2 separate regions of the Homo sapiens genome follow, and region 1 is linked to region 2. The links are contacts of gene promoters, found by promoter capture Hi-C in blood cells and fetal thymus (Javierre and others, 2016). All regions are on one chromosome and are shown on one strand. The core of a region is centred on a gene start or on the middle of the fragment in contact, and the rest is flanking DNA. Distances in the headings are between cores, read along the strand shown.

Region 1 (2,700 bases), core at 8-2,507, 520 kb before region 2:
AAATGTGAAAATTAAGTCCAAAAAACAACTTAACTCTTACTACTTAATTTACCTGCAAGAAAAAGTTTAGTAAATATTTTTAATAGTCATTATGTTACAGAAAAGCAAGCTAGGATAAATGGGTTCTAGGCAAAATCAATGGTGCACCCAAGGAAAGAAACAACTTAAAAATTGTTATTTTATCATTCCTATCTAATGTTTCATTTGTAACTATGAGTAAACAGGTGTTTGAGAACAAATTCTAAAACTAACCTTTGGGTCACATTCAACTCTGAAAGCTTAGTATAAATATAAATACAAAAGTCCTCTGGTTCTATTACAAAGTTTAAGGGAGCTTTTAATAACATGTTTGCTTTAAAGTCCAGTAGTTTCATACTTCTTTTTTTTTTTTTTTGAGACAGAGTCTCGCTCTGTTGCCCAGGCTGGAGTGCAGTGGCACGATCTCGGTTCACTGCAACTTCCGCCTCCCAGGTTCAAGTGATCCTCCTGCCTCAGCCCCGCTAGTAGCTGGGATTACAGGTATGTGCCACCATGCCCGGCTAATTTTTGTATTTTCAGTAGAGTTGGGGTTTCACCATGTTGGGCCAGGCTGGTCTCTAACTCCTGACCCGCCTCGGCCTCTCAAAGTAGTTCAGTACTTTTACTACTACTCCTAATAGACCAAGGATAGTTATTTATTAGTACTTATTCATCTATCCTCTGCCTGGTCCCACATATGGCCAGCAGTAGCTATTTATTTAGGAAAAAAAAAAAAGGTTTAACAATGTGTGAATTGCTGTGAAAGTTGGTCTTTTAAGCTAACTGTCAAGCTGGTTAATCAAACTCTTAAATAGTTCTTCTTTCAGTTTCTTATCCTCATACTAAGAACATCTGTAACTGTTTTTGTCTACTACTGTAAAAGAGAATACGAAAAGACAAATGTAAACAGGGTTAAAAAAATCTTTATAAATATTAAATACTTATTCTGCTAGTAAGCTAGAGATAAACCCTGAAAAGTTAAACTCACATTTAAAATTAAAAAAAAAAAAAAAAGAGGCAAATAACTCTATGACAAGTCTGTCAGAACATGTTAGAACTTGCCTTACCAAATTTAATCACTAAGGTAATCCTCTATTAACAAGTAATAAAATATTTTCAGAGTTCACTTTCAAATCATGAAATAAATACAGATTTAAAAAGGTTTAACACAATGAAGACAGAAATAGAAAAATTTTAAATGAGCAGAAAAGTAGTAAAAAGTTTCTACTGCAGAATCATAGTGGGGGAAAAAAAGTCTAATTATAATTAGATCGAAGTTTAAAGAACTTTCTCAATACTTTCCATGATACCAGTAACTGACTACACTTCTAAAACAGCACCAGTAACATATGAATTAGTAAATTGTACAGATAAACATTTCTAGATATAAAAATATTACTGATAAATTTGGTAGAGAAGCATATGATATGGTGTCAAAAAACCTGGTGGACTTAGCCACTACTAAAAAGCTCAGAGTTTCCACCACAGTAAAAATTTTCTTAAAATCTTTCTTGGGAGGCCGAGGCGGGCGGATCATGAGGTCAGGAGATCGAGACCATCCTGGCTAACACAGTGAAACCCCATCTCTACTAAAAAATACAAAAAAATTAGCCAGGCGTGGTGGCGGGAGCCTGTAGCCCAGCTACTTGGGAGGCTGAGGCAGGAGAATGATATGAACCCGGGAGGCGGAGCTTGCAGTGAGTCAAGATCCTGCCACTGCACTCCAGCCTGGGTGACAGCGTGAGACACCGTCTCAAAAAAACAATCCTTCTCAGGGGTCTGAAAAATTTTAACAAGAAAAACACAGTTGTGAAAATTTTTTATTTAAAAATAATTTCCATTTAAGAATTGTCTACCAAGATATTGGACAAATCAAACCCATGTTTCTCTAAAGTTGTGTAAACTGCAATAAATCATAAAATAAAAACACTGTTCTCTACTTCAAATTTAATAATCTAGAGGTCAGAGGGAAAAAAAACAGTTAATCACACTTTGAGGTCTTAGAGCAATGAATTTATAAGACTATCTTTCAGGAAAGAAGACCTGTATTAGAGAAGCAATACAATTCAGTGGTTAAGAGCACTGATTCAAGAACCAAATAGCCTCTGTTTCAGTCTTGTCTGCCATTTACTAGGTGTGACCTTAGTATCTGTCTCAGTTGCCTCATCTGTAAAATAACATCTACCTCAAAATGTTATTCCACCTTTAGTACTGAAAGAAAAGCTTTTGTAAGACCAACGCCCCTGGAAGAACAACTATAAAAGCTGGATGAAAATAAAAAACTACCACCTCATACCCATTAGAAGAGTTACTATAAAAAAAAAAAACACAAAACACAAAATAACAAGTTTTGACAAGAATGTGGAAAAATTAGAGCTCTCGTGCACTGTTGGTGGAAACCTAAGATAGTATAGCTGCTGTGGAAAGCAATATAGCAGTTCCTCAAAAATTACAAAAACAATTAACATAGGATCCACTAATTCCACTTCTGGGTATACACCCAAAAGAAATGAAAGCACATCTTGAAGAGGTATTTGTACATTCGTGTTCACAGCAACATTATTCACAGTAGCCAAAAGGTGAAAACAACTCAAGTGTCCATCAACAGATGAACAGATAAACAAAATGTGGTCTACACATAGAATGCGGTATTATGCAGCCTTAGAAAGGAAGTAAACTCTC
Region 2 (2,700 bases), core at 189-2,688:
ACACTCCAATCACCCCCGCCCGCTCTACACCCCCTGGGCACCCGATGCCTCTTCCCTCTGCCAGGCAATTTGCTTCCGTTCTGTTCAACTTTCCGACCTCTGGCTTTAGAGAATAGTCCTGGCTGTGGGAACTGGCTCTGGGAAGCTTTTGGCGCCCTCCTCATTGGTGACTGGCAAGAGTAACACTTTCACACTCTTAAAAAGAGCCGTTTAGTTCCTAATGATATTTTCTGGCAAAAAAGAAAATGAAACACACAACCCGGATTCCGGTCCACCAAACGCAGGCCAAGAGCGCGGCTGCTGAGCCCCGGTCTTGCTGTGAGGCTGTTGTTCCCACTCGCTTCCCGTTTCCACTAGAGTTGATTTGTCTCTTGCCACCTCTCCCCGGCAGTGTGGACCTACTGCAACGCAGGAACATCTGGGTTGGTATGGATAGGATCCTAGCATCAGATGCTGGCTGCTGCCCCAGGGACTTCCCGCGGAAATCACCCAGCACTTAGAAGCCGTTTCAATAAGGAAGTAACCAGTAAAGCATTGCTGGTGGGAGAACCCCGCGAAACATCTTAGAAAAATATCAGAAACCGCTGGAGACCTAATGACCCACGTCTCCTCCAGCCTGTGTTCCTCAGCCCTTTCTGGAGGAGTATTAAGTGGTTTGTGGGTTTTTACCCTGCGGTGGGAGGGCTGTTCCAAGTACATCTATTTCTGCGATAGTTAACGTCGGGGGGCCCCAGCTCTAACCAGGGCGAGGACCACGGACTGCATCCCTCTCTCTCAGCGCACTGGTCTGTTTACTGGAGGGTGAGAGGGACGCGCAGACCTCCGGACTCAGGGGTTCTGTTCTGTAGATCCCCCCACCCCACCCGGGGTCTCTGGCACTCGTATCACTTAGCACCAGTGTGACTGGCGGTGCATTCCGGCCCCCTCGCGCCCCATTAAAGCCCCTGCACATCCTCTCCCACGCTGCGCTTCTGCTACCCACGCAGCTGCTCCTCTGAGCGTCCCGCGTGCACAAACGCGCCCCCGGTCCTTACGCGTCGGTGGCGCTGCCTCGCTGAGGTGGCGCCGGGGGAGCCCGCAGAGGCGGCGGGGGAGGGAGTGCGGAGGAGAGGACCCGTGAGCTGCGGGGACCTGGGCCCGCCGAGCTTTTGGGGAAGCTGGGCTCCGTTCCCCCCGGGCGCCTGGGGCGCGCGGGAAGGCGCGGAGGACGCGCCGCACTCACCCGCTGCTGCTGCCGGCTGCTGACTGCCACCGCGGCGGCGGACGCGGCGCTGTGCCGGAGCTCGGCCGCCTGCCCAGGTCTCAACAGGCTCCGGGTGAACCTGCGGGTCCGCTCACCGGCCATCGCCGGTCACGCCAATCGCGCCGCGGGCCCGGGGCGCGCCTCCCGCCGGTCTTCCCCGCGCCAACCTTCTCTATCCACCCGCCGTTCAGGAAGCGGAACTCGGAGCCTTCCCCCCCCTCTTCCTCGCTCAACTCGCAAGAGGCGGGTTTTTCTCTCTTGCACCCCCACTCTTCCCACCCCCTTCCCTCCTCTGAAGCTTCTCGAAGACTTTCCAAACTCTGCGCTCCCCCGGGCGCGCGCGGCCAACTCGGCTGGCGGCCGGGCCCTGCAGCGGCGCATCTGGAGCGGGCGTCGCGGGACGCGTGTGGGGCGGCTCCTGCCCGCGCCGCCCACACGGGCTCAGCTGGCCGGCCGGGGCTGTCCACGCCGCCCGGGGGAACTGCAGGCTGCGGGGGAGGGCGGGGGGCGGCCGCCGAGGGGCTCCGGGCGGGGCCTGTCCAAGGCCGTCGCCTGTCCAAGGCCGTCAGCCTCATTTGGAGGTTGCTGGGAGAGTTGGAGCCCTGGATGCATTTGCCGTTTAGACTTCTATTTTCTGGGTCCGGCTAGTGGGTGGGGGCCAAGCTCGGTTCGCCCTTCCACCCTCGGGAAGGGGTCAGAGGCTTATTAAAGATCTGGTGGCTGGGATCCCAGCAGCATCGCCCAAGCCAGCGTTTGGAAGGCTCCCTTGCCAGAAGTCCATGTTCAGGGCCTTGGAATAAGCTTCCCCATTCATTCACTCCTTCAATGAGTATTTATTAAGCGCCTACTATATGCCAGCTCACACTGTTCTGGAAACTGAGGATACGGAGAGGAACTTAGCAACTACACTTTAAGGCTGTGTAGAGCTGATAGGTTTTTTCGGGGTAGGGGTGGGAGACAGCAAGTAACCAAGCGAACAAATAAACAAATACAGAGAAATCAAGGAGACAGTTTAAGCTACTAACACGAACTCAAAACCAATAAATCAGCGTTCTGGGGGTAAGAGACTTTGGGTGGCATTAGGATGAGTAGGCAAGAACCAACTGGCAGGGTTACTATGTAGGGTGGTCAGGTCGGGGGTGGATTTCACAGTTATGCTGTCTCTGCTCTTCTCTTGCCCATACCCATCTAGCCTGCACTTTGCCTCTAGATAGGTATCTGATGAAAGCCTTCTAAGAAGTCTCTTCCTGGGTCATACCCAGGGTGGTTCTGCAATTCAGTGTTGGACTGGATGGGGGGCAGAGAAGTTCTGGCCCCTGGATACTGGTCTGGAGAGATCTGGGACAGCCTTTCCAAGTGGTCTGGTTTTTTCTTAACAGCTTTTTATGGATCCATGACCCTGCCACTTTCTAAAGCCAATGATAGATAGTTATAACACAAGGTCACATTTGGGTATA

Evidence for each region. The method cuts DNA at HindIII sites, captures the fragments that hold promoters and counts their contacts. A CHiCAGO score of 5 or more calls a contact.
Region 1: a contact is called between a fragment that was not itself captured here and the fragment with the promoter of DOCK10 in region 2, in 1 of 17 cell types (activated CD4 T cells). The highest score is 5.1, in activated CD4 T cells.

What each region holds. Positions count from the first base shown.
Region 1 is chr2:224,521,055-224,523,754 of GRCh38, forward strand. The region is part of intron 3 of CUL3 (cullin 3); the gene reads right to left. Among named protein-coding and RNA genes, the nearest start is that of CUL3, 63 kb to the right of the region's middle. RefSeq lists a silencer at 604-673. The HindIII fragment of the contact is 1,963 bases long and covers 277-2,239 here.
Region 2 is chr2:225,041,030-225,043,729 of GRCh38, forward strand. DOCK10 (dedicator of cytokinesis 10) reads right to left here and starts at 1,439. Exons shown (of 56, transcript NM_014689.3): 1 at 1,223-1,439. The coding sequence starts at 1,345. RefSeq lists an enhancer at 146-485 and silencers at 1,036-1,275, 1,466-1,835. The HindIII fragment of the contact is 1,396 bases long and covers 144-1,539 here.